Linked DNA regions of Homo sapiens: regions 2, 3, 4 and 5 are each linked to region 1. The links are contacts of gene promoters, found by promoter capture Hi-C in blood cells and fetal thymus (Javierre and others, 2016). All regions are on one chromosome and are shown on one strand. Each heading gives the region's core, a stretch centred on a gene start or on the middle of the fragment in contact. The rest is flanking DNA. Distances are from core to core; before and after follow the strand shown.

Region 1 (6,057 bases), core at 1,149-3,648:
AAGTGATCTTTCTGCTGTGGCATCATCTAGATTCAGGTTTTTCTAACAGCAAATTTATCTGAATTACAACTAGCTACATAATAAATTACATATGGTGATGTACTGGATAATAAAACTAAAGAAGAAAAACTTGGGCTCATATGAATCAATTATTGTAACTTAGTTATGATTCCTTTATATATGTGGACTCTGGTCAATTACACTTACTCATGATACCCTTACAGATATGTGATTATCCTGAAAACTTAATGGAGTGGTTAGCCAGCTGTTAATTTCAAATTTCCCAGAAAATCATCTAATGTAAAACACTTTTTAAAAAGCATATAAGTTTATTTTTCCTCTTTTCTGCTTTGAGAAGATTTGGGGCAATTGACCAATGTTCTCTAGAGAAACAGCTCACCAGGAATCATCCTAATGGCTGGTGGATAAGACTTGAGAAGAATCACTGCATTCTGTATTGGATATTTAGAGAACAAATGGATGCTTGGGGAACATAACACTTGGAAAACTCGCCTATGGCTTCCAGATAGCTAAAATGTCCACATGCTTACTAATAGCAGAGGTATGTATATGAAGAAATTCCAGGTTGAATTTCACAGGTACCTGGATCAGAACTAGGTGGAACAGATTCTTTTACATACTTTGAGTAGCTCAGAAGCTAACCGTCTATTACAAGTGAAGACCCGTATTGCCATTTCAAAATGTCTAGTTTCTTACTATCAAAGTGCCACTGGAGGAGCCAGCAATACATGACTACAAGTACACGGGCTTTGGAATCAAATGTCTCTGAATGAAGTTGCGTTTCTGTCATCTACCCGCTGTGTGATCTTTGGCAAATGCCTTCCCTTCTGGAAGCTTTGCTTTCCTCAACGGGGTAATGAAGCTGTACCTTGCAAGGTATGATAAGTCAGTGGGATCATGTATATAAACTGCCTATCCCAGTGTCTGGCACTGGATAGGTCCTCAACAGTGTTAACTGTAGTTATCATCAAGAAAGTCATGATGAAGTATACTATAATATTGAGTCTGTTCAATATCTTGATAGAGACTGGGTGCAGTGGCTCACGCCTGTAATTCCAGCACTTTGTGAGACTGAGGCAGGTGGATTACTCGAGTCCAGGAGTTTGAGACCAGCCTGGGCAACATGGTGAAACTCCATTTCTACCAAGAGTTAAAAAAAAAAATTAGCCGAGTGTGATGGCATGCGCCTGTAGCTACTCGGGAGGCTGAGGTGGGAGGATTGCTTGAGCCTGGGAGGCAGAGGTTGCAGTGAGCCAAGACTGCACCACTGCACTCCAGCCTGGGCAACAGAGTGAGACCCTGTCTCAGAAAGAAAAACAATTTTGATAGACACAGGTGACCTTTATTCAGTTGATGTAATATCACTGTCAGAACATAAGGCCAGTAGATCAAAATACCAACCTGCTGCATACATGTAATCTAACAATGAGCTTTTATATTATTGGTATCAGTAATAACAGCTGATATTTACTGAGTCTATATTATGTGACTGTCACTAGGTCAAGTGCTCTGTCTGCAGTATCACATTTAATCACCACAGCAATCCTATAATTTGGATATGATTATCCCCATTTTATAGACAAAAAACCTGAAGCTTAGGAAGGAGAAATAAATTGCTGGAGATTACATGGCTACTAAGTGCTATCAATATAGTGGGATCTAGATCTGGTCTGAATCCACAACACAGGCTCTCACAACCGGGTTACACCTCCTCTTAATTGGTCACACCATTTAAAGAACAAAGAAAGAGAATCTCTTATTAGATGGACTGACCCTACTCTGAGTTAGGAAAGATAAAACACTGAGTTGCGTCTCAAAAGGCTTTAGTTAATGAACAGGAAATCACATATTCAGGCTTGAAGCTAAGACTTAACCTTGTAAATTTTCCTGAAGTGAGAGAAATAGTGACCGTGATGTCAGGCAAAAATCGCCACCACGTGTAACCCATTTCTTCCTTGTTTTGCCTTTAGTTAGCTTCAAGTTCTTTTTTCACATTGTATCTTTTAAATGTACCGTACGTGTGTTGTTAACAGCACACTCAGAATCATATCTTGGCATTAAAATTCCACGAAGTCCATTTTGAGAATCATATTACTACACCTATTTTTAGCTGTTAACACAAACCACTCTTTCCATTACACTTTTAAATTATCTACTGATAAAGTGACATTGAAAATAACTCTTGTTGCCAAATAAAAACCCTATATTTGGTTTAATCGGGCCAGACCCATTGACCGGCATTATGCAATTATATTACTAAGGCTGCTACCTGCCCATGCCCCTCTCCTCCTCCTGGTTTGGAACTACCCTCCCCATCTGCTGCTATATTTATCTGCCTTCTTGGCCATAAAAGGCTGGTTGTGTGGCCTGACATTCGACTGCCTGACCACATGCATTATTTTTGAACTGGCCCCCAGGGTCCTGTCTTTAGCCCTGCCTCTTAACATTGTCTTGGATTCAACCTAGGTGGAGTCTTCATTCTCTCATCCAGCTCCTCGGCCTCATCGGAACATTTCCACCACCATTACTCCTTTGGAAACTGGTAAGTGTGACACTGAGGCAGAAGAATGCACTTGATAGCTTATGAGCTTAGCAGCAGTGCAGTGTAAGTGCTTTCTTTCTGTCTTCTGAACTCAGCAGTTTTCTCAAAGAGATGTCAGAATAACAGAGAAATAGGAAAGTGAAGCTCCAGGGAGGGAAACCAGAACAGCCGGGTGCCAGTCGGGCTGGCACAGCTCTTCTCTCACATCACTGTATTCTTCTGAAATTAAGCTGCTGTTCCTGGAACTGTAAGGAGGTCATATCTGCCTCGGATTGAACTGTAAGCGTGTGTTTAATGCTATTTCCAAGTACGGTTTGGTTGAAATCTGAAATGGATGAGAGACAGGAGGCCCTGCATTTTCAATCCTGCATGTGCCATACAATGCTCCCTGGTTACAAATTAGACCGAAAGAAGGAAAATTAACTCTGAAGTCACTAGTTTATAATTCAGGGATCTTGCTGTGACGATGCAATGTGGATAAATGTGAGCGCGCACAATGATATGGCCTCAAATGGTTAAGTAATATTTCAGAGGCAACATAGAGCCCCACATAGTGATTTTTCTGGGAATCGTTTTCATCAGCTTCTGCCCTCTAATGCCTGCACAAAAGTATCATAAATTACAGCTATGGAATTTGTATTTCTTCCTAAATTCTCAAATTATTTTCAGAAAGAAAATTTAGGTCTTAAAGAAACAAAAGACACTAAAACCATCTTTCCTCCCAACGTACTCCAGCCGTCATGTGTTGGAGCTAATCCTGGCTTTAGTTAACTTCAAGGGCTTACTTGATGAAGAGGAGGTGGTTGTACCTTTGTTCCAGAGGTCAGGGCTGTGACAATCAGCAATGTGGGCTTCAAGTCAAACCCTGTTTACTTGTAACTTACTATCTATGTGAGAGGAATAGTAAGTATTATTAAAAATAAATGTATTTGGGAGAAATAGAAATAAAGAGAGTAAAAAATAGTATTGGGGCAAGATATTTAAAGATTTTATTTTGTGAAAATAACAGCATTTCAAGTCATCTGGGGAATGAATTTAGTTTATAACATAACAAGTTTCTTTATTATTTATTTGAAAAATCATTCAAATAACATGTGCCATGTTACAATGTAGTATCATAACAGAAACTTCTCTAATATCTTTATAACTGCCTAACGTAATTCTGTATTAACATTTTCTAACCCCTTTGTTTTATCAAAATTCATCTAGTAGTTATTAATTATACATGGTAATTATCCTCCATATTTTGTAACAGAAAATAGCCATCTATTTAAGGGTTGAAGCAAAGTTGCTTGCTAGTAGCTATTTTTTTCCCTTAGGAAATGCCCTGTAGACTGATATCTTCCATGAACCCTAAGATAAATATTTCTGGAGTGAAGTTTGCTCAGTTTTCTTCTCTGGGGAATACATGCTGACTTTTAAAATAGTTTAAATAAAAAGTAGTTTTAAACTTGACAAAGAATATGCTGAGTTTAGAAGGATTCATTCTTCATTTTGAATTTTTTTAAAAATGACATTTGGAGAAAACAGATCACTTTAAAACTAATTCTACAGCATTAAAACACTTGGGGGTGGAGCTTTTATAAAACTATTACTTCATCCAGGGTTGTCAACGTGGCTGATAGGCCTGCTTCAGTGGATAAACTATTCAAGAATGCTAAGGCCATGTGACATCTCCCCACCCTATGCTAAACAAACATACCTTTGACTTTTAGTAGAACTGCTAGCTCAAGTTCACAATGCCAGCTGTCACCCTGGGAATCGACTCTCTTACCTCTTTAAGTAGGGAGACTAGAAGCCTGCATGTTCCTTATAGAGCAAACAGGTTTTTTTGTTTGTTTTGTTTTGTTTTCTGGTTTGAGACTATACCTTTGCTTGAAATGTTTGTGAGATTTGAGAGAGCTTATATATAAGATTAGCATACTCCAGGGTTCAGTTCTAGGACTTTATTTTACTTATTTTATTTTATCTTAAATTTTTATAATAGAGACAAGGTCTCACCACGTTGCCCAGGCTGGTCTCAAACTCCTGGGCTCAGGAAATCCTCCTGCCTTGGCCTCTCAAAGTGCTGGAATTACAAGCATGAGCCACCATGCCTGTAATTTCCTTTTCTGTGTATAATGGTCCTCATCTGTTTTCTTTTAGGACTTTCTTTTCCGTGTACAATGGTTCTCACCTATTTTCTTGGCTTTCGATACCACCTATATGCTGTTGACTCCCAAATGTATATCTGCATCCTGGACCTCTCTCCTGCACTCCAGAGTCATGTATCCAGCTTCCCACTTAAAATGTCTCCTCTGGGAGGTCTAACAGGCATCTCAGATGTAGAGCATTGAAACCAATCTCCTGTTCTTCCACCCCAAACTGATACTTTCCCACATTCCTCCCCATCTCAGTTAATAGCAACTTGTCTTTCAATTGCTCAGGCAAAAACCTTGGAGTCATCTCTTTCTTTCACATCCTAATTCAGAACTTTCAGCAAATGCCATTGGTTCTAACTTCAAAAGCTGTGCAGAGCTTGACCACCTCTCACACTTTCGCTGCTACCCCTGTCACCTCTAGCCTGGACCATTGCAGTGGACTTTGTATTCTTTTGCCCGGGCTATCATAGCTAAGCGCCATGGACTGGGTGGCTTAAACAACAGAAACTTATTACCTTACAACTCTGGAGGCTGGAAGTCCAAGATCAAGGTGTCAGCTGGGTGGTTTCTTCTCAGGTCTCTTCTCGGCTCATGGATGGCTGTCTTCTCCCTGTGTCTCCACGTGGCCTTCCCTCTGTTATATACATATTTGGATCTTGGTTTTCTTTTCCTATAGAGACACCATCATATAGAATTACGGCCCATCCTAATGGCCTAATTTTAACTCAACTTCCTCTTTAAGGACCCTATCTCCAAATATGGTCACATGTTGAGGTACTGGAGGTTAGGGCTTCAACACAGGAATTTTGAGAGGATACAACTCAGCCCTTTCATAGGTCTTCTGGCTTTCACTCTCATCCCTCCACAGTCCATCTTCAGACATCGGCGAGAATGAGTCTCAGCTCAGAGTCTTCCAATGGCCTCTCAGCCCTTTCACAGTATTAGCTGAAGTCCTTACTGCTACCTACAGGACCCTACACTACTGGCCCTTCCACCAGGCACATAGCTCACCTCTTTGACATCATCTCCTATACCTCTCCCATCCCAGAACCCCTGCCAATCAGTGGTTCCTGGAGCACAATAGTCATGTTCATTCCTCAGTGCCTTTGCTCTGGTCTTCCTTCTGGAATACTCTTCCCCAGAAAGTCTCATGCTCAGATGTTACTGTCTAGAGAAGCCATCCCTGCTGAGGCTGTTGAAAATTGCATCCATCCCTCTTACCTGCTTTGTTTTTCTCTGGTTCTTGGCACATTAACCTATCTCATACTTGACTTACTTGTTTTCTCTATTGTCTTTCTCCTGCAGTAGACTGTACAGTTCTGTACAAGGTAATTAGAGCAGGCATTTTGTCTG
Region 2 (6,042 bases), core at 1,506-4,005, 140 kb after region 1:
TTTCAGCTTTGTCTGCTACAGACCTGAAAATCCAGAGCACAGCCGAGGGCATCCAACTGTACTCTTTTGTAACTTACTATGTGGAGGATTTGAAAGTTAACTGGTCCCACAAGTAAGTAAATGAGAACTTACTTGCTGTGTAGAAATTCTTTCCCTGCCAGGCGCGGCAGCTCACACCTGTAATCCCAGCACTTTGGGAGGCCGAGGCAGGTGGATCATTTGAGGTCAGGAGTTCGAGACCAGCCTGGCCAACATGGTGAAACCCTGTCTATACTAAAAATACAAAAAAAAAAAAAAAAAAAAAATGAGCTGGGCGCAGTGGCAGACACCTGTAATCTGAGCTACTGGGGAGGCTGAGGCATGAGAATTGCTTGAACCCAGGAGGCGGATGTTGCAGTGAGCCGAGATTGCACCACTGTACTTCAGCCTGGGTGTCAGAGTGAGACACTGTCTCAAAAAAAAAAAAAAAAAAAGAAAAAGAAAAAGAAAAAAGAAAAGAAAGAAAGAAAAAGAAATTCTTTCCCCACTGGAAGAGGGGAGGATAGGGAAAAAATTTTTCTGTTCTTCTCAAGTAAGGAGTCTTCTTAATTCTCAAGTCTGACATTGGTGAGCCCAGGAGATAAACATCCAAGGCATTCTGTTACTGTGAGGTTAGCTCTTTCCCTCAACATGTACATGCTGAGGCCAGTCATAGTTACAGTACATCTTTCTTTGTGATTTAAGAAGTACCATAATTCATAGACATCTCTATAATGCAGCCTCCACCTCCAGACAGTCATGCTTGGGCTCTCTCTGCTGTGCCAGGCATCTGGAGCCACATTCTTACCTTTCTTTCTATACACACGGTTAACACATCTGTGGTCTGGAACAGAAATGAAGCAGTGTGCACCAGGAGGCACCAAATTTCCCATGATATGAATGAATGGGCATTCACCAAAGAAGCCTAATCCAACGAGTGCCCAAGATTATTGTTGTTGTTATAGCATCTGGCAGAGTGAGACATTAGCATGTTTCTGGTCCACTCTCAGAAGGCTTTGGAGATCTCAAGTTGACTTTGGGGAAGGTGAGTTTGAACCTCTGTGCAGTTATACAGGGACTCTATTCAAGTTCACTTCTGGGATTCCAAGAGCTGAAATCAGTTTCCAAATCAAACCAGGCCTCCCATTTACACTCTTGACAGTGTCCTTAACCTCTGTGTTTCCTTGAAATATCCTGAGCTGAAAGAGAACGGAGGCCTGGCAAAGATAATCCAATGGAATGTAGCCACATTCAGTCCAACTTCAGGATGCAAATGTTCCAAACTGCAAATGTTCCTAGGAGCCCCACTGAGAAGAAGGTCACATGGCATCCCCAGGAGGGTGCAGATAATAAGTTTCCTTACACTGTACCCTCAGTGGCATTGACAATATGGGGGGCACTGCTCAAAGCCCTTTACATATGTGAATTCATTTCACATTCACCATTCTACATGGTAGGTGCTCCTCACTTGAGGGATGAGGGAGCTAGGGCTCGGGGAGGTGACCGGCCTAAGGTCACACAGCTAAGAGGTAGGTCAAGGCTGAGCCTAGGCAGCCTGGCTCCAGAGCCCGGTTCATCATGGTACTACCTGCCACTGGATTCCAGCCGTGTGAAGTCTAGATTAGAGATCCCCAAACCCCAGGCCATGGACCGGTACCAGTCCGTGGCCTACTAGGAGCTGGGCCGTGTAACAGGAGGTGAGTGGTGGGCGAGGGAGCGAGCATGACCACCTGAGCTCCGCCTCCTGTCAGATCAGCTGCGGCATTAGATTCTCATAGGAGCGCGAACCCTATTGTGAACTGCGCATGCGAGGGATCTAGGTTGTGCGCTCCTTATAAGAATCTGATGATAAATGTTATGTGCTTGAGTCATCCCCAAACCCACCCCCGACCTGGTCTGTGGAAAAATCGTCTTCCATGAAACCGGTCCCTGGTGCCAAAAAGGTTGGGGACCACTGGGCTAGATTGAACAGTTAGCCAGAGCCAGGCCCCACAAAGCAGCCATTTGTGTTTTCTTTAAGATGACTTTACTGTTATATAAAACAGTGTTTTCGTTAGTATTATGATTTATTATTTCCTGAGTCATAAAAATGAGAATTAGTAAAATTCCAATGTAGAATGCTTGGGGCTTATTCCTTTGTTCTGTTTCTTTCAGAATACATTTTAGGAAAGTAATTATTAGCTAAAATAGATCAAATTCCAGGAAATTCCTCTGTGGCATCTAGGACATTCTAATATATCAGTCTGAAGAATGAGAGAAGTAAAATTCATTGAATCATCAATCAAAAAGCTTTATATCTTCTCTAAAAGAATTAACTTGTTCAAAAATGAGAACACTGAAAGTATGTTTTGAGGAAATTGCTATTAGGCCAGCAAAGCATAAGTATCTTAATTATTTGGTCTAGTCAATCAATTATGTCTCTTGTGTTTCCGTGTACCTATGACATTCAGGGATAAGGATGGTCTTTGCTGTCTGTATGTGGCATAGAGGGGAAAAAAACCCTTGAAACGGATTTTAGTCTTCACTTTGTTCCTATCTTGCCTTATGATCTTAGACAGGTCATTTAATTTTCTGAATCTCAGTTTTCTCTTATATAAAATAGGACCAATAGTACCTATTCCATCGGAAGCACATTACAGATGTAAGGTACCCTTATTCATGTTACCCAGAGATTAAAGATTTAAAACAGATTTATTATAGCAAAGCAGAGGACAATCTTTCTGTTTAACTCTCTCTCTTTTTTTTTTTTTTTGAGACGGAGTCTCACTCTGTCACCCAGGCTGGAGTGCAGTGGCGTGATCCCGGCTCACTGCAACCTCTGCCTCCAGGGTCAAGCAATTCTCCTGCCTCAGCTTCCCAAATAGCTGGGATTACAAGCGTGTGCCACCATGCCTGGCTAATTTTTGTATTTTTAGTAAAGACGAGGTTTCACCATGCTGGCCAGGCTGGTTTCAAACTCCTGACTTCGTGATCCACCTGCCTCGGCCTCCCAAAGTACTGGGATTACAGGCGTGAGCCACCACGCCCGGCCCTGTTTAACTCTCTAAGACACATCTATTGCTCATGCCAAAATCTGTCTTTACATTTTATGGCATCTTTATTTTTAATATCTTTTTAGATAAATAATGTTATTTAAAAAATGTAATATTATTAAAAATGCTAAATATTAGAAAGCTAAAAGCTTTTAGGTAGGAAATTTTTTTTTTTTTGAGATGGAGCCTCACTTTGTCACCCAGGCTGGAGTGCAATGGCGTGATCTCGGTTCATTGCAACCTCCGCCTCCCGGGTTCAAGCGATTCTCCTGCCTCAGCCTCCTGAGTAGCTGGGACTACAGGCACATGCCACCATGCCCAGCTAGTATTTGTGTTTTTAGTAGAGACAGGGTTTCACCATGTTGGCCAGGCTGGTCTGGAACTCCTGACCTCAGGTGATCCGCCTGCCTCCGCTTCCCAAAGTGCTGGGATTACAGGTGTGAGCCACCGTGACCAGCCAGAAAATTTGTTTTTCTATGTTTTCCAAAGTTCATTTTGTTTATTACAACAGACGTAAGACATGCTTGTTTCAGAAAATACATTTATAATAATATAAATTAGAAAAAACTATAATATAATAGTATCCATAGTTTTACCAGCCATAATATGAACATTTTAGGGTACTTCCTGCTAGCCTTTTTTCTATGCATGATGGTTACTATAATAACGTCATTTTATATACCACTTTTTAACGTCATTTTGTATGCCACTTTTTAAACATTTCCTCAGTTTTAATAACTTCTTCATAAAGTTTCTTTTAACATAATTAAAAGTACATCTACCTAGCTTTCTCTTAGTTCGTCTATATCTGTAGTATTTCTACACCAAGATCACACAAAAAAGGGTTGTATTTCCTAATATTCTCTTGCAGAGAATATATTGCATGGGTCTGCTCATGACCTACTGTAGAATTCTGAGAAACTCACATCCCGGGACAGAGAACATGCCTCATTCGTGTTGGCGGCAACTCTGCTTTTCATTCACTCTTGGCTCTACTACCAAGTGCATATTTATCTGTTTTAAATAGCTTTCTAACAACATATGTCAATAGATGTCAGGCACAGATGAGCCTCCATAAGTGTGTTTTTGGACTAGCTTGTAGAATCTGATTTATAGCCATAGATTATCTAGATGAAATATGCAGTAAAATAGTATGTAGTTTGGCCTTTTAGCTTTATAGATTACCCTAGTCCTACAAATAAACCCAAACAAAAACAAAGATAATTAATGCCACCGAGAAGTATTAGTATTGTGATTTGCACTGGGCCTCAGACTGCTATGAGGAGTTATTAACAAATAAATGTTCAGACTGTCACACCTTGGGCCCTGGAATCCCGGTTCTGTGTGTCATGGCCCATAATTTTTCTGAAGCAGAAGAATAACATATGCAGATCCCTCGTTTTTTGAAAGCCTACAAAACTTTATGGCAAGAGCTTCAATGAGAGACAAAGTAAAGATCAGCCCTGGATGGAAGCAAATGCTAAGGAAGTTTTCTTCGATTTTCACAGTGGGTCCGCCATTAGGTACTCAGACAGAGTTAAGACCGGGGTCACTGGAGAGCAGATCTGGCTACAAATCAACGAGCCCACCCCGAATGACAAAGGGAAGTATGTCATGGAGCTCTTTGATGGCAAAACTGGACATCAGAAGACAGTGGATCTCTCTGGACAAGGTAAACAGATATTTTGCAGATTCAAATTTACTCTAGATGAATGAGCCTTTTAAAAGGAATGAAGGGAGTTGGGCATGGTGGCTTATGCCTGTAATCCCAACACCTTGAGAGGCCAAGGCAGGAGGATGACTTGAAGTCAGGAGTTCAAGACCAGCCTGGGCAACAGAGTAAAATCTCATCTCTAAAAAAAAAAAAAAAAAAAAAAGTAGCTGGGTAAAGTGGCACACACCTGTAGTCCCAGTTACTGTGGGAGGCAGGAGAATCAGTTGAGCCCAGGAGTTCAAGACCAGCCAGCCTGTAGCAACATAGTGAAACCCCATCTCTATAAAAATAAATAAATATTAAAAATGCTCACTTATAAGCAAAAAGTCAAAAAAAATACTGGACCATTTATCCCTTTCCCAGAACTATACTCTTCATCTTATTCTTTCTTACAAAAATAAAATAGTCTGCCGGCATGGTGGCCTTTAATCCTAGCACTTTGGGAGGCCAAGGTGGGAGGATCACTTGAGGCCAGGAATTTAAGACCAGTCTGGGCAACATAGTGAGGCCCCAGCTCTTCAAATATAAAATTTTAAGAAATTAGCCAAGTGTGGTAGCATATGCCTATAATCCCTACTACTCAGGAGGCTGAGCTAGGATGATCACTTGGGCCCTGGAGGTTGAGGCTGCTGTGAGCCAAGATCACACTACTGCACTCCAGCCTGGGCAACAGAGCAAGATTCTGTCTCTAAAAAAATAAAAAATAAATAAAATAAAATAGTCTATACTGTATTAAAGTTAATAAAGACAACTGTGGACTAACTTTTCCTCCACTTCATTTTAAAATACAATCTCAGGTGGGCATGGTGGCTCATGCCTGTAATCCTAGCGCTTTGGGAGGCTGAGGCGGGTGGATCACCTGAGGTCAGGAGTTCGACACCAGCCTGGCCAACATGGTGAAACCGCGTCTCTACTAAAAATACAAAAATTAGCTGGCTGTGGTGGCACATGCCTGTAATCCCAGCTACTTGGGAGGCTGAGGCAGGAGAATCATTTGAACCCATGTGGCGGAGGTTGCAGTGATTTGAGATCACGCCACTGTACTCCAGCCTGGGCTACAGAGCGAGACTCTGTCTCAAAAAAAAAAAAAAATACAACCTCAATATGCAGTAACTCAGGTTTTCTCAACCTCAGAGAGCAGATTCATCACTTAGAGCGTCGCCCTTCAGCCCTGCTGTGAGTGTTTTTGGTGCTGAATCCCCTTGTCTTCACCTCACCCATTCACGGCGACTAGAAAGACTCGCTGCAGGACCTTTCAGTAATGGGAGCAGCTGCTCC
Region 3 (5,340 bases), core at 442-2,941, 250 kb after region 1:
GACAAGGTTTTATTTTCATTTTGGGAAATGAAGGGAGAAGCATTAAAGAGAAATGTGGGAACAGGAACCATTTAGTTTTACAGAGCTATGATAGTTTGAAACAAGTTTGGCCATGTGAATGTTGTCGGGGCTGAGGAAGGGAGTTGGGGCCCCCTTTTGAGGGTGCTGCTTACCGTTTTAGGATCTCCTTAAGCCACACATGTTATTTTGAAATTTAACGATAAAATTGAACACTAGTTTTTCTTGCTCTGTACCAGGTTCTATTTCTGAAGAAAATTAATGTTCTGGTACATTATTGAGCACAGGAAAATTAAACTATTGTTTCCAGCCATTTTCCTTAAAGGCTGTGCTCTGTAGCATAATTATATTGGGCATTTTCGTAAAAGTCAGCTGACTAGTAGAAGATGGATAACTTTGTGGTTGTGTTTCACTTTGTTTTCTGTAATAATGCAGTTACGGCACCCTTGCCCCTGCCTCGGCTGACTTCACACTGACTTCCTCTGATGACCAGCAGTCTCTGCCGCGAGTTGCTGCTGCGCTGCTCAGTATTCTCCAGAATGATCTACTTGGCTGTCATTTGTTCTCACGGGGATATTTTTAGATTTACCCATCCTGAGGCGGTGTCATTTTTGTCACTGACATAGACTAGATTTATGCAAGTTTTTCTCTGTGAGGTCTTCAGCAGCTTCTGGAGGAAAGTATTGGTCTGAACACATGGGCATTGCTTTTGGGACTTTGGGTTAACTTCCACCATGGATTTCTTTTCTTTGTTTTTGTTTTTTTGTTTTGTTTTGTTTTTGATATGGAGTTTCACTCTGTCGCCCAGGCTGTAATGCAGTGGCGCGATCTTGGCTCACTGCAACCTCCACCTCCTGGGTTCAAGCGATTCTCGTGTCTCGGCCTCCTGAGTAGCTGGGATTACAGGTGCCCACCACCATGCCTGGCTAATTTTTGTGTTTTTAGTAGAGAGTTTCACCATGTTGGCCAGGCTGGTCTCAAACCCCTGACCTCAGGTGATCCACCCCCCGCCTCGGCCTCCCAAAGTGCTGGGATTACAGTCGTGAGCCACCGCACCCAGCCTGTTTTTTTTTTTTTTTTCCAGTGCATGGTTATATGTATCTTCACTTACCTCTTGAATTTTACTCTAAGTCAGTGAGATAAAACGCAACACTGTGTATATTTCTCCCTCTCCTTGCTGATTCTGTTCACTAGGTCTTGCATTCATTCATTCATTTATTCATTGGTCCATTCATTGATCCAAAACCACTTATTAAGAACCTACTATTGCTAGGCACTGTGCCAAGCTTTCAGGAAGCAGTGAAGCTTGCGGGACTTTTCTCTTCCTTACCGGAACTCAAGAGTTTGAAGGTAGCCTAAATGTTCATGCCGCGTGGTGGGTGCTGTGGTAGGGAGAGGGCAGGGGGCCTTGGGCACTCACAGCAACAGATCCCATCTTGTGACCTCTGCTTTCTTCTCAGCCGCTGAGCCCACACATCCTCCCCTATCATCTTTTTGATCTTTGCCTTTGTGCTCTGGGGATTCACAATCTGTTGTGGATGTACGTTCCTTTTTGATCCCACTTCCTCCTTACCCAGGGAACCTGAAACATCCTTGCTCCTCTTACGAAATACCAGATTAAGATGAAAACTGGTATTGGCTTTTGAAGAATTGTCCAGAAAATTATTGGGCTGATGACTGGGGTGGGTAGAAGATGGGGGCTGGTAATTTTTGAAGATGAAATAGGTGATGTTTATGGTCCTTCCTTAAGTTATACCTGCTGAAAAGCTGAAGTAGACACTGTCGTTGAGTAAAGGTCTGGGCCGCCACTCGGAGAGAGGGTGCATTGCTATACTGGGAAAGCGTCTTCCCTTTTCTGAGCCCTACTCAGTCCAACAAAGCAGTTCATCTGTTTATAGAAAGTGAGTGTGTTGAAATCATCATAGTGAAGTGAACTCAGTGAGCAGAAGTCTGAGCTTTCAGATTCCCTCAAAGGAAATAACATGGTGACAGATCCAAAAATCCTAATTTAAAACTTATCAGCCCTGAGAACTAAGCTTAAGGCCAGCTTCATATTTTCTCATTTTTAAAAAATTAAAAATTTTTTTCTCAACAGATTAAGTTGTTAAGTAGCATAAAGTGTTATCTGGGTTATGTTTGAAGCATGTTCTTGCTAGTTTTGCCAGGCTGATATTTGCAGGAGGGTGTTTTAGGGCTCCAGGTGGCTTTATCCAGTCAGGATCTAGCCTGTCTGATTTAAGTCCTCTGTTGGCAACATTGGAAATGGACTCTGAACAACCACGCAAAGAAACTTATGACTGGCTCATCGTTCAGAGAGATGCCAAGAGGGCAAGAGCCAGGGCCACCTGGGGTGTCAGTGTTCCAAGCTGGTGGGCCTTCTGCATCCCATCTCAGGTAGCCCAGCCCTCCCAGTCTTGGGTGGCCTTGGCTCTCCATATACGTTTCATGAATATCTGTTTGGGCCAGATGTTTCCCACCCCTGTCAGCCAGCAGATACCAAGACCTGGGTCCCGTATTATAGACATGGCTACTGGGGGCCCACCCTTGTGTTTCGGTGCCTCTCTGAGCACTGAAATCATTGAAATCCAGGGAGCCCTGTTTTTACCTTCAGATCTAGCCATTGCATTATGTGTCTGTTTAAATTCCCAAACAGAAATATTGAATCAGAAAATCCCCTCTTCTTACGTATCCCAAAGGTTGATATTGAGTAATATTTGGTTGTAATTGTGGAAGGGGTCCTTAGGCAAGCAGTCTTCCCAGGCCAGAATTTCTGAGTTTTTTCACAGAAGCACTGCCAGTTCTAGAATTTAAGTATCATAAAACAGTCAGGTCAGCTGTCATTAAAATGTCTAAAATTCTATTACTATCTATTGCTTCCACTTCTGATCCACACTTATCAGACCTTGACATCTTTATACGACAGGATGTGAACTTGAGCCCATAACAACTTAGTCTTCATAACAAACTTAATCAGGCTTAAGAGGAGAAAGTTCTTGCAACAGAGCCTAGAGTTAGTTCCCAAACTTGGGTGTCTGTCAGAATCGTGGGTAACAGATTTTTAAGACCTCATTTCCAGCTTTTTATGTAGTAGGTCTGGGTTGGGGTTCATGAGCGTGTATTTGTTTTTATCCCCCTTTCCCGTATTTTTCATGAATGAACCTACATTCTTAAGCACCAAAACTTGCTTCTATTGCAGGCAGTCCAAGGACCACTCTTTGAGAAATACTGACCTAGAGTGTGCTCCTTGCCAGTTTTCCTCATTTAGTGGGGAAAAAGAAGTTAGATATAAAAACCTCCCTGACTGCGACTTCAAACAGTGGAGGTGATGGGGTTGCTCTGATTTAGAAAGACAGAGTTTGTGATCTACGGGGAATTGACTAGAACCTCAGATCCTCCAAAGCACACCTCATCCTGGCTAAATCTCATTCTCTCAGGAGGGAGTCCTCTGAGGCCCAACACCAGCTCAGAACGATTCAAAAACTCCCCTGTACTTTTTCTCTGTAAAAGACAAAGGACAGGACAATTCCCAAGGCTCAGAGCCTTTGTGTAGTCAGTTTTCTGTTGAACTGATTTTGGAAGTAGCACAAAGTAGCAAGAGCTCTTACTTTTACATGGAACTATGCTTCCCTAACCTGGCTCATCTTCATAATTAGTTCTTAAGCTTTAAAACAGTCAGAAATTTGCATTTTTTAAAACCACCCAGAATGATTTTCATGTACACAAACTTTTGAAGCAGTGTGGTAGTAAGTAGTGTTCTTTAAGTTCAACCTTGATAGGAAGTTCCCCACCAGGTCTACTCTTTTTATTTCCATATCTCTAAGTTGGTTCATGCAACAGTCATCAAGACTAACTGATTCTCAGCTCCCTGTGTGTGTCTCTTCTACCATAGAGCTGTGCAGTCTCTTGCCTGAATTTGTTGTGGTGACTTCTGGAGTAGTCTCTCTGCCTTTAGCTACCTCTTCTCTAGTTCATCCTCCCCCTGTGACCTAATCCTGTCGCTTCCCTGAACAGAAGAAGCACTGATTGCACCCATTGCCCACATGATAAACTTGCACAGGGTCAAAGGCCTTGTGGCATCTCACTCTTGTCCCTCAAACTTAGCACACTTTCCCATAAGCTGTTCTCTCTGCCTGGGACTGCCCACTGGGAACCTTCCTTCCTTAATCTGTTCAGCCCTTTACACATACTTGCACTTCTAGAACAAATATTTTCTGCTGCTTGAAGCCTTACCTAACTCTCCCAAGTAGATTTTTTCTCTTTTTGTTCTCTAGTCTTCCTAACAGTCTCCCAAATAGCATTATCATAAGGGATTATATAAGACAGTATTTGTTATATCTCTTTCAAGAACCAAGGTCCTCTGAGAGAGGATGAGGGCAGAATTTTGTTTATCTTCATAAGGACTTACTGTAGTGACTGGCATGAAATAGGTGCTTAATTTTGACTGTGTGAAAACTGAACTGTACCAGAAACAGGCCAGTATAATGGGCATCTTTTTTTGTGATTGTTTCTGAGTTAAACCTGTAGGAGGATTACATCGAGAGGCCTTTCCCGGGTAAGGCTTCTTCCAGATTTCCTTTTTCATTGTGATGAAAAAGCTGTCTGGATACTCGGTGTATTCAGGAAGTTTGCTGGGAGGCACTGGGTTTTCGTTTACAGAGTCTGTACAGGGACTAAATCGTCCTAGAAATGAAGGAGAACACTTTGACCAGTCGCCCTACACTGCTGGGGCAGCAGGAGACCCGCTGTGTTCTTGAGGAGACATTTGGGGCTCTTTCTCCACTGAAGGTCTAGGAGCGGTGAGTGTTAGAGGCTCAGCTGTCAGCACTTCTCATGGGCCATCTTAGCTTCAGGAAGACCGCATGGGCTTTAATGAACCATCTGTTTTGTGCTCCTGGGGGGTAGGCCAGGTTGTTCTTGTGCGGCTGCTATTTTCTATTTCTTGTTTTATAAAGTGAGAATTTAAAGATAGCTAATATAAAATAATACAAAACTAAAGAAACAAATTGGCATTCTACTATGACGGGGAAAAGAAATAACCAGGAAGTACAAAGTAAGGCATTTGCTTGAATTTAAATGTCTGAGAACAGCTTCCCTCGGAAAGGCTGGATTCCCCGTCAGGGCTTGGCGTCGGGAGTCTGTGGCCCTGCTTTCAACTTACCCTAGACTGCGCTGTGTTGTATACTCTTCCTTTCTTCTGTCTAGCTAAGTTGTAACCTCCTTTCGTTCTTTGTAATCCCTTAGCATCTGGTGGGCACACTGTAAATGTTTTGTAAAATGTTGACTCAGTTAAGCACCTACACGATGTGGGCAAGCCCCTGGGGG
Region 4 (5,371 bases), core at 1,985-4,484, 160 kb after region 1:
GTTAAGGATGAGACGTCTTCATGCTTTCTCCTCCCTATTATTTTCTGGCTTGAGGGGAAAATAATGTCAGGTCTTTCACTCATATAAAAAAGCACCAACTAATGACACTTTAATTGTTTTTCTTTATCTACAAAATTATGTGTTAAGAAAATACCATTCATAGCATGAAGATTAGGAAACAGTTTTAAGGAGAAGACTTGAATGAAGTTGGAGGGACATTGAATGATGGTCAGAGGGCAGACGAATGTGTCGTGGGGCGAATTGGGATTTGCTGCAGCTGTGAAGCCATGGCCGTGTCTCGTGTGTTGTTACAGAGGTGATGTGCTTTTCGACGGGCGCCTCGTGGCTTGGAACCTCCTCTGTATGAATAAACAGTTTTCACGTCTGTCCTCTTCCCCGACACTGTTTCTCAAATTCCTGCTGTTTTGCTGCTAGGTTGGGTGGCTTCTTGGTGCTTCTTTCTCAACGCGTCTTGTGCCACATCTTCTGATTTAAATTCCTTTTGGTGAAAGCAGTACCTTGCAACATGATCAGATAAGTCGTTTGAGCTCAACGAGGTTCAGGGGTGTGAAATTACACGGCCACTGCACATCTGGTGGCTTACCACACAATCAAGCCAATTCCATTAATAAGATACACAAGGCAATTGAATGTAATGTGACAATTACATGTGATAAGATGGTGTGAGGCGCCTCCTGCCAGAACTGGAGACTAAGGGCCCACAGCTAAGAATAAAAGGTACATAAGAAGCCTCATTCTGAGCTCAGAGAACTGCCAGCTGTGGAAATTGCCACTCCCTGAGGGGTTTGCTGAGGGTCAGCATCCCAGCAGCAGCTGTTGTAGAAAGTTTTGTCCTCCCCAACCCCAGCACCACACACACACACACACACACACACACACACACACACACACATAACACACACCATTCTAGGAAAATCGTCATGGTGTTTTTTTCTGTTGGGTGCAGTATCTCACACCTGTAATCCCAGCACTTTGGAAGGCTGAGGCGGGAGGATTGCTTGAGTCTAGGAGTTCAAGACCAGCCTGGGCAACACAGCGAGACCCCTCTCTACAACAAATTTTAAAAATCAGCTGGGTGTGGTGGTGCCCACCTATAGTCACAGCTACTTGGGAAGCTGAGGTGGGAGGATCATTTGAGCCTGGGAGGTCAAGCCTGCAATGAGCCATGATGGCGCCACTGCACTCCAGCCTGGGCAACAGAACAAGACCATCTCATAAAAACAATTTTTTCCCCTTCTTTCTCCTGCCAAAGGTAGCGGATGAGACAAGAAATTTCCTTATACAGTTGGCAGGGGCTCCTACACACCCTCTCCTTTACAAGTTTAAGGCTGGAAATTGCTTCTCATCTGACTGTGGCCAATCCACTTGTCCAAACAAGTGCTGGATGCTGCTGCTATGACACTGAACACCAGGCAGGAGCCAGATGCTGTGTTCTCACTCCCAGATATGGCAAGGAGATGAGCTTCCCAAGGGTCAAGCGGACCCCATGGAAGGTGGCTGGCCATGAGCAGTCTGCGGTTCTGCCTGCCTCAGTAAGAGGGCTACATCTGAACAAGCTGACCCGGAAGGAAACTGCCAGTGGGTGGACACCTGCTGGGGAGCTAAAGATGGGAGGGTGGCGGGGTGGGGGTGGGGGTGGGAAAGGTTCAAGCGGCGGCAGACCTCCCATGCCAAGGGCCAAGGGCTGTGCAAGCGAGAGGCCCCTAAGACTCTCCGAAAAGCCCCCACCACACCCCTCAAAAAGCCAGCAACAGAGCTCCCAGTGTCAGAGAGGTGAGGTTTCTGCAAGCAGCACCTCCCACCCCTTCCCTAATTTCCACCTGCTGGATCCCAGACTGGGGAGAAAGCAAGACGGGTGTTGAATCAGGTGGAAACAAAATTTTAAAACAGTGTATTCCAAATTCTGAAATTGTGCAAAAATGTATGAAATCAAAGTGTGCCCTAAGACCCCTGCGCCCAGCAGAGGGGTTTGCTGGGACACAGCAGCAGTGAGTTGGGGAGATGGCTTTTGTGTTCGGAGCTCCATACGCTGAGATTGCTCAACAAAACAGCTATAAGAATTATTTCAGCCATTATTATGACCAAACTAAACCAGTGACCTCAAGATTTAATAGCTTAGGTAAAAAGCTGCTATTTCTACAGGGGAAAATAGAACTGAAACTATAGATCCATCACTTTAATGGTGCCGAAGATACTTTGTAACACATAAAAATTTATGAATCTGTGACCTGGTAAATGTGAAGTAGTGGTACTTAAAGGATCAACTTGGAACACAGAAAAGACCATTCAGAGTTTACTTCAGTTTTATAAAATTAATATATAGGCTGGGGTGCAGTGGCTCACGCCTGTAATCCCAGCACTTCGGGAGGCCGAGGCGGGCGGATCACCTGAGGTCGGGAGTTTGAGACCAGCCTGGCCAGCATGGAGAAACTCCATCTCTACTAAAAATACAAAACTAGCCGGGCGTGGTGGCACATGCCTGTAATCCCAGCTACTCAGGAGGCTGAGGCAGGAGAATTGCTTGAACCCAGGAGGCGGAGGTTGTGGCGAGCCGAGATCTCACCATTGCACTCCAGCCTGGGCAACAAGAGCGAAACTCCATCACAAAAAAATTAAAAAAATAAAAAAATTAATATATATATATATATATAATAGTCAAGTGACACATTTTAAAACCTAGATCTTCCTAAATTCTTGAAGTTCAACTTTAAAACATTATTTTTCCATTTAAAAATCTGACTATTGAAGAACATTAAGTTTAAGGCTGCTTTTTATAGCATAACTTAATTCCCTTTAATTTGTTAAGCTTTATTTATAAATTAATATATTTTCTCTCCACTTTAAGGACTACTATTGTCTGACTTAAACAAAACTGTCTCAAGAACTTAAATAACTTTATCTACTAAACTAAGTATATAAATACAGAAAATTTGGAGTTTTCATAAATATTCTCATATTGTATATAAACCTAGTAAGATGAACATAAAATCACAGTCAATTAAACATTTTACATTGGAATCACAAAGCTGGAGGCTGGGTGCAGTGGCTTACACCTGTAATCCCAGCACTTTGGGAAGCCCAGGCAGGAGGATCACTCGAGCCCAGGAGTTTGAGACTAGCCTGGAGAACATGGTGAAAGCCCATCTCTACAAAAAATCCAAAATTAGCTGGGGGTGGTGGCACGAGCCTGTAGTTCCAGCTACTCGGGAGGCTGAAGCAGGAGGATCGCTTGAGCCTGGGAGGTCAAGGCTGCAGTGAGCTGTGATTGCACCACTGCACTCCAGCCTGGAAGACAGAGTGATACTCTGTCAAAAAAAAAAAAAAAAAATTGGACTTAGTCACTAGGCTAAGACATTTCAAGTACATGAAAATCAAATATGCACAGCCTACATAATGCAGAAATACTAATTTTTGCCTAGATATAGCCTCTAAGATCTGGGACTGGAGTTTTAATACACATGCCAGAATGAGAGATGTAGACCTGGATTGTTCAAGGTAGTGAGTTGGTACCCAAGATGCCTGCACAAATCTGAGATGCACAAAGAGTGGCTTAGTCAAAACAAAAATGGGAATAGTAAAAATATCACCAACTGACATAGAGAAGCTATACAGAAGCTTTCCATCTGCCTGGGGGCGGTTCTGGATGGAAGAAAATTTAATGGATTCCTCAAACTAGTACTGCATGTTTGTGGGGTGCAAATTTACAGCACCACATGGTAACAATCTCAAGCCAAGAATTCCCATAAAAATGGTCGAGGTCCGGGGCCTCAGGGAAGCAAATGCAAAACTACGCTAGACGGGATTCTCTGTCTGCCCACAAAGGATTACTGTTATGGAAATTGTCCTCCCACCATGAACAACTAGAAAAACAGGCAAAATATCAAAACATATGGAAAAATAACCGTTTAGGGCATTGGCCAGCAGATGTGCAGGCCCAAGATGCCTGAGAGAAGGGGAAAGTGATGAGACACCTGTGATTGCTCCAGCTTCTTCTTGCCTAGACAGAGTGCTCAGGCTGCAGCCCAGCAGGGGGAGCCTGTCAGTCTCATTGAATTGAGGGGACAGAGACTGAGGTTCAATGAGGCGGGGTCGTCTAAAATGTATGAGAAAGAATAAGAGAGAGAGGAGAGTTGCACGAAGACAGGGTGCTGGAGGCTGCACATGCTCTTTGGCTGAGTACTATTCAGCAAATGCACGGGAGAAAGAAATCTGGAAAGCCTCAGGCCAAGCAATTCTTGGAGCTCACGCGGGCTGGAAACAGAGTCCGTGTCCACCAGCCGGAATGAAAAGACTTTGTAATACGTGGGCCTCGGGTAGAGTCCTCAGAAGTTTCTCCTCCATAGTGGGGCACTACTAAGGTGAGAAATTAATCCTGGATTAAAAACTCCTCTGGCCCCACCCTAACAGAGCTTAAAAGCAAGCCTCAAGAGGATCAAATATCTACAACAAATCGAGTGTCAGAACAAGGTGCAGCGCATTTTAAATGAACACACTGGCACGGTCTCAGGTGTTCATTAGTTCTGTTCTGTGGGCCTGCTTCACATACCCACAGCAAGATGTTTAGATAAAATACTAATACATCAGTTATATGGAGGATTACAAACTGGATACATAGTGACCATCACATCACAGCCTCAAATATTTGCATTTTGACCTCTACCTTGGGCTTTAGAGATAAGATTATGTTTAAAAAACAGTCTTAAGTTATTTAAATTGCTTCTGAAGAATCAACTGATATATGTAAATGAAAATCTCAATCTCTAAAATGCACACCAAAGTTTCCAAAATTACTTAGCTCATACTTACTAACATCTAAGTGCATTTTTTACTTTTTTTAGAACATGCTTTAATTGTAGCCCAGCATCAAGAAGGCATAGTAGACTTGTCACAAAGCTCAGACACACACACTGTGGTTACTCAGACAGTCCATACTCCCTGCTACTCACTTTTGAGGATGAATATTTACATTCCAAATGATACACAACTAAGTTTAATTTAAAACACTTTGGAAACAAAATAGGCACTGTTTGCAATAAATTATGAAGGTAATGCTCGCCTCCCCTGGGGTTGAGTTTCTACAGTTTCCTTCTGTGGTTTCTTTCCTCTCGTTTCTGGTTTTAGAAGGTTAAGGGCATAACCTATCAGGCCGGGACTTCAGCCTGAGGCGTTACTAGTGCCCATGGTATCACACAAAAGCCACCCACTCTGCTTGCTAAGAGCTGGTTCTAAGCCGGGAGAAAAGGTGTTACATTGCTGAGCCAAACTGAAGCCAAGTGTTTCCTTTCAGAGACGAGGGGGACGTGTCCCAGAATCAGAGAGTGTTTTATTACATTGACTCTATTTTGGTTGT
Region 5 (5,427 bases), core at 2,488-4,987, 230 kb after region 1:
TCTTGAACTCCTGGAACTCAAGATCTGCCCACCTTGGCCTCCCAAAGTGTTGGGATTACAGGTGTGAGCCACTGTGCCTGGCCCCATTGCATAATTTTCTAATTGTAGTAAGATTCAACCATTTTTGAATGTATGATTTCATGGTATTAACTACCATTTACTATGTTGTACAACCATCACTGCTATTTCCAAAATTTTTCATGACTCTAAACTCTGTAACCATTAAGCAATAACTCTCCATTTCCTCCACCTGGTAACCTCTAATCTACCTTTTATTTATGAATTTGCCTATTCTAGATATTTCACATAATTGGAATCATATGACATTTGTCCTTTTGTGTCAGGCTTATTTCCTTTAGCATGTTTTCAGGGTTCGTCCATGTTGTGGCATGTATCAGAACTTCACTTGTTTTCATGACTGAATGATATTCCATTGTATGAATATAACACATTTTGTTTCTCCATCTGTTGATGGACAGTTGTGTTGTTTCCACATTTTGGCTGTTGTGAATAATGCTGCCGTGAACACTGGTATACAAATGTCTGTTTTCAGTTCTTTTGTGTATGTACCTGGGAGTGAAATTGCTGGATTATATGGCAATTCTATATTTATTTTTTATTGTATTATACTTTTTTTTTTTTTTGAGATGGAGTCTCACTCTGTCGCCCAGGCTAGAGTGCAGTGGCGCTATCTCAGCTCACTGCAACCTCTGCCTCCTGTGTTCGGCAGTTCTCTACCTCAGCCTCCCAAGTAGCTGGGATTACAGGTGCACGCCACCACGCCCAGCTAATTTTTGTATTTTTAGTAGAGATGGGGTTTCGCCATCTTGGCCAGGCTGATCTTGAATTCCTGACCTCATGATCCACCCACCTCCCCCTCCCAAAGTGCTGAGATTATAGGCGTGAGCCACTGTGCCCGGCCTTATTATTATTATTTTTTGAGACAGGCCCTCATTCTGGTGCTCAGGTTGGAGTGTAGTGACATGGTCTCGGCTCACTGCAGCCTCGACCTCTTAGGCTCAAGCAGTCCTCCCACCTCAGCCTTCTCAGGAGCTGTGATTATAGGTGTACAACACCACACCTGGCTCATTTTGTTTATGTTTTGTAGAAACAGGGTCTCACTATGTTGCCTACACTGGTCTCTAACTCCTGGGCTCACATGATCCTCCCACCTTAGTCCGCCCCAGTGTGAGCCACTGTGCCGAGCCTGGTAATTCCATATTTAGCTTTTGAGAAACGACCAAACTTGTTTTCTACAGTGGTTACACCATTTGACATTCTCACCAACAGTGCACAAGTGTTTCAGTTTCTCCAGTTTTCTTTCTAACATATATTTTCCTTTTTTAAAAAAAGTTGACAATTTTATTTTCATATTTCACAATATAGATAAAAACTGCACTTTTTTTGTCCCACTTCTCCACTCCAAAATGATTCTTTCTTTAATAGGAAGGGGGAGCACCTTTTCTGTATCAGACTGATAAGAAAACACCCAGAGTCACAGCATTGTGATCTCCTGGTGAAGCAGAGCAAGCAATATAAAACTGATATAGGGAGGCCTCCCCTCTATCCTTTCTGTCTGCTCGAGTCATTCTGGGCCAAGTGGGCACCATCATGGGACAAGCAAGAGGTCTCATCATTGGGGGCCCAGGCATCATTGGCATGTGGCCTCCCATGGGCAGCCTCATTCCAGGAGCAGGTCCCACTGGCATCATCCCAGGAGGAGGGCCCCGTGTGGGGTGCTGGCATCATACCAGGATGAGGAGGACCCAGAAGACTGGAGGGAGGTAGTATCATTGTCCCTGCCGGCGGGGAACAGAGATTGAAGTAGGAAGTATCTTTCCTTGTTGAAGTGCAACCCTTATTTTGTCAGTCAGGCTCTGAGCCTGTTCTTCCATCCATTTCTAATAGTAATCTTTGACATTCTGTCTCTGTTTCCTACCACTGCAATATGTCTTTCTCATAAATGGAGAGTCATGGATGAGGTGTGTGTTGCAGTAGTCACGGCCATTGGCCACTCTCTTCCTTTTTAACAGAAACTATAGCCATCGTAGTGGGTATGAATTGGTATCTCATTGTGGTTTTGATTTGCCTTTCCCGGATGGTTAATGATGTTGAGCATCTTTTCAAGTATTTATTTGCCATTTTGTATATCTTCTTTGAAGAAGGGTTTATCTAGATCCTTTGCCCATATTTTAATTGAATCATTTGTCTTTTAGTTGTTGTAGGAATTTTTAAATATATTCTAGAGTTAAACTCCCCAATTTGCAAATATTTTCTTACATTCTGTATGATTCTTTTTCTTGATCATGTCCTTTGATACAAAAAAAAGTACTTTTAGTGAAATCCAATTTATCTAGTTTTTGTTACTCATGCTTTTGGTGTTATATCTGAGAATCATTTGCCAAATCCAAGATCATGAAGATTTACCCTATGTTTTCTTCTAAGAGTTTTATGGTTTTAGGTCATTAATCCATTTTGAGTTAATTTTTTAATATGGTGTAAAGTAGGGTTCCAACTTCATTCTTTTGCATATAGAAACTTAGTTGTGTCAGCACCATCCGTTGAGACTATTCCTTCCGCCATGCAGTGGATTTGGTACTCTTGTCAAATATCAATTGGCCATAAATGTTTGGGTTTATTTCTGGACTCTCAAGTCTATTCCATTGGTCTGTATGTCTGTTTTATGCCAGTACTACAATGTTTTGATTACTGTAATTTTTTTTTTTTTTTTTGAGACAGAGTCTCACTCTGTCACCCAGGCTGGAGTGCAGTGGTGCAATCTCAGCTCACTGCAGCTTCCACCTCCTGGGTTCAAGTGATTCTCCTGCCTCAGCCTCCCGAGTGGCTGGGACCACAGGAGCCTGCCACACACCTGCCTAATTTCTGTATTTTTTGTAGAGGCGGGGTTTCACTGTGTTGGCCAAGCTGGTCTCGAACTCCTGACCTCAAGTGTTCTGCCCGCATTGGCCTCCCAAAGTGATGGGATTACAGGCGTCAGCTACTGCACCCAGCCTGATTACTGTAACTTTGAAAGTTTTGAAATCAAGAAATGGAAGTCTTCCAACTTAGCTCTTTTTCAGTATTATTTTGGCTAGTCAGGGCCCCTTGTAACTCCATATGAATTTGAGGCTTTTGGAATTTTGATAGGGATTGCCTTGAATTTGAAGATCGCTTTAGGTAATATTGGCATCTTAACAATATTGAGTCTTCCTATTCACGAACACGGATGTCTTTCTATTTACTGAGGTTATCTTTAATTTTTTTTTTCAGTGATTTTTGCAATTTTATTTGTACAAGCTTTCACCTCCTTGGTTAAATTTATTCCTAGGCATTTTTTTTCTTTTAGATGCATTGCATAATGTTTGAGATTTTAGAAATACTTAGCATAGTAAATCTGAATTTCAGCTTAAATAATGAGTCTAAGAAGGTACTGTGGAAGACATCTTGAGCTCTAGCTGGTTTGTCCTTGGATATTTAACATAACCTCTCTCTAAACCTCCATTTCTTCATCTGTAAAATATAGGGATAAAGCAAATCTGTCTTTCATGAGAATTGTGTAGATCAGAGATAATATATGCAAAGGATTAATTCCAGGGTATGGCTTAGAGTAAATACTAAATAAATAGTGCTTGGCTGCCAGGATTGTGTTTTCTTCTATGATTTCAATATAAATACCTATGTTGTACTTGAAGTATACTTTTTCAAATTGAATACAATTAATTTGTTGCAAAGGCTGAAGATTTTTACACAAACTAAATGCCCTGTTCCTGAGAGAGCTTTTTTATATTAAAGTATGTTGAGTCTGGAAGAAAAATAAAATGAAATGTCACACTTGTTCTGTTTCAATGGTGCTTTATCCTTAGAAGAGGGAGCATTTCTTCTCATGTTGCAACTTTCAGATGCCTCTTTGCTTTTTGAATCCTATCTGTGTCTTGACATTACAAGGTTAAATCTTAGACATTACCAGCATTTAACTTGAAAGAGTAGCAAAGCTGACTAACTTTTCCCCTTTTCTTTTACTACTTAGTGCATTGAGGCTTTACCCTCACTGGAGATTGCAATTACCGTCACCATCTGGAATTGGATTCATCTGTATGTGTAGAATATAACTTACATATAAAGCTGAGTATCAGTGTTTCAGGTTTTCTCTTTTTCTTACACATCTCAGTCAAGCTTTAGATTGAAGTAGGCAGATTCACTGAGTGTAATAATTTAAGAATTCAGTTACTTTCATTTTAATTTAAATTTCACCAATTAAATAAAATTCTTCATAACACTTAAGTATAGCATTAGAATTTCTAAACATTGTGAAACTAAATTCTTTATTCTCATAGCAAAGTATATTAGTCATTTTTGCCGTTTCTCCTGAAGAGCATAAATGAGCCTGCATTCAAGAATATGGAATGTTGTACATTCTGATGGGGAAATAGAGTGGCAGAATATAGTCAGGTTGAGGAGCATGGAAGTTTGAAAAAGAACCAGAAATTTGGAGAGAGAGCTGACCACAGAAACAAAGGAGGGTTGCCAGATTCTGTTGGGGACCCATTTAAGGCTACAGATAAGTAATTTATACTGTTACCCATCTGGCCTGCTGGCAGCACTCATGATGATTCTTTTTTTTTTTTTTTTTTTTTTTTTTGAGACAGTCTCTCACTCTGTCGCCCAGGCTGGAGAACAGTGGTATGATCTTGGCTCACTGCAACCTCCGCCTCAGCCTCCTGAGTAGCTGGGATTACAGGCGTGAGCCACCACACTCAGCTAATTCTTGTATTTTTAGTAGAGATGAGGTTTCACTGTGTTGGCCAGGCTGGTCTTGAACTCCTGACCTCAAGTGATCCACCCTCCTGGATTCTAAGTACACTTAAAATTACAGCAGCCGTTCGTTTCTATAGATGGAAGAAGGTGGCAGGAAGAAGAGTAATTACTAAGAGTAATTTACTAAGTAAAGCTGATTACAAATATCTTTTAAATAAAAAATTTTTAAGTAATTGAAAGAGATCACAGCAACAGAATAATTTAAACAACCATCACCAGTTTTTCAGGTGGTCGAGAAAATCTTGAATTAGAACTGTTGTGAGGAACCAGCTATGGAAGAGAAAATTGGAGTCAAAGATGGACCTGAAATGTCCACGTGGAAAAAAATAAGTCAAGGAATGTGAGGATGAGGGGTTCCTACATGATGCCGATACATTTTGTGATAATTTTCACTTATATTTTCTTTGGATTGTCTTAATGATATAATCAACTCTTGCTCACCTTATTTGTTGTTTGTTGCTGTTTTTGGGGGACAAGCTTTAAGCTATCTCACTTTTTGATCTGGAGTATAGGAACCCAGCACTGGCTTCTTCCAGCACCTTCACTTGGCCTCAGTGTTGTGATGCACTGAGCCACCCCTGTTATTGTGAGTCTATAACAAGTAATTTGTTT

Evidence for each region. Contacts are between HindIII fragments. The CHiCAGO score rates a contact against its expected background, and 5 or more counts as called.
Region 2: a contact is called between a fragment that was not itself captured here and the fragment with the promoter of MYOM1 in region 1, in 1 of 17 cell types (M1 macrophages). The highest score is 6.3, in M1 macrophages.
Region 3: a contact is called between a fragment that was not itself captured here and the fragment with the promoter of MYOM1 in region 1, in 2 of 17 cell types (megakaryocytes and erythroblasts). The highest score is 10.9, in megakaryocytes.
Region 4: a fragment that was not itself captured here is called in contact with the fragment with the promoter of MYOM1 in region 1 in 1 of 17 cell types (M1 macrophages); the score reaches 5.8 in M1 macrophages.
Region 5: a contact is called between a fragment that was not itself captured here and the fragment with the promoter of MYOM1 in region 1, in 11 of 17 cell types (megakaryocytes, M1 macrophages, erythroblasts and 8 more). The highest score is 10.9, in megakaryocytes.

Annotation. Positions count from the first base shown.
Region 1 is chr18:3,216,309-3,222,365 of GRCh38, reverse strand. It overlaps MYOM1 (myomesin 1), which reads left to right and starts at 2,398. Exons shown (of 38, transcript NM_003803.4): 1 at 2,398-2,563. RefSeq lists a silencer at 4,101-4,395. The HindIII fragment of the contact is 10,525 bases long and covers 1,618-6,057 here.
Region 2 is chr18:3,077,859-3,083,900 of GRCh38, reverse strand. MYOM1 (myomesin 1) reads left to right here. Exons shown (of 38, transcript NM_003803.4): 33 at 7-112; 34 at 4,559-4,722. Among named protein-coding and RNA genes, the nearest start is that of LPIN2, 68 kb to the right of the region's middle. The HindIII fragment of the contact is 892 bases long and covers 2,310-3,201 here.
Region 3 is chr18:2,967,506-2,972,845 of GRCh38, reverse strand. The region is part of intron 1 of LPIN2 (lipin 2); the gene reads left to right. LPIN2-AS2 (LPIN2 antisense RNA 2) reads right to left here. Exons shown (of 3, transcript XR_001753322.2): 2 at 5,177-5,274; 3 at 2,737-2,818. Among named protein-coding and RNA genes, the nearest start is that of LPIN2-AS2, 3.2 kb to the right of the region's middle. RefSeq lists an enhancer at 95-244. The HindIII fragment of the contact is 731 bases long and covers 1,326-2,056 here.
Region 4 is chr18:3,061,836-3,067,206 of GRCh38, reverse strand. It overlaps MYOM1 (myomesin 1), which reads left to right. Exons shown (of 38, transcript NM_003803.4): 38 at 1-400. Among named protein-coding and RNA genes, the nearest start is that of LPIN2, 51 kb to the right of the region's middle. The HindIII fragment of the contact is 809 bases long and covers 2,830-3,638 here.
Region 5 is chr18:2,987,225-2,992,651 of GRCh38, reverse strand. The region is part of intron 1 of LPIN2 (lipin 2); the gene reads left to right. It also overlaps the pseudogene SNRPCP4. Among named protein-coding and RNA genes, the nearest start is that of LPIN2-AS2, 23 kb to the right of the region's middle. The HindIII fragment of the contact is 876 bases long and covers 3,300-4,175 here.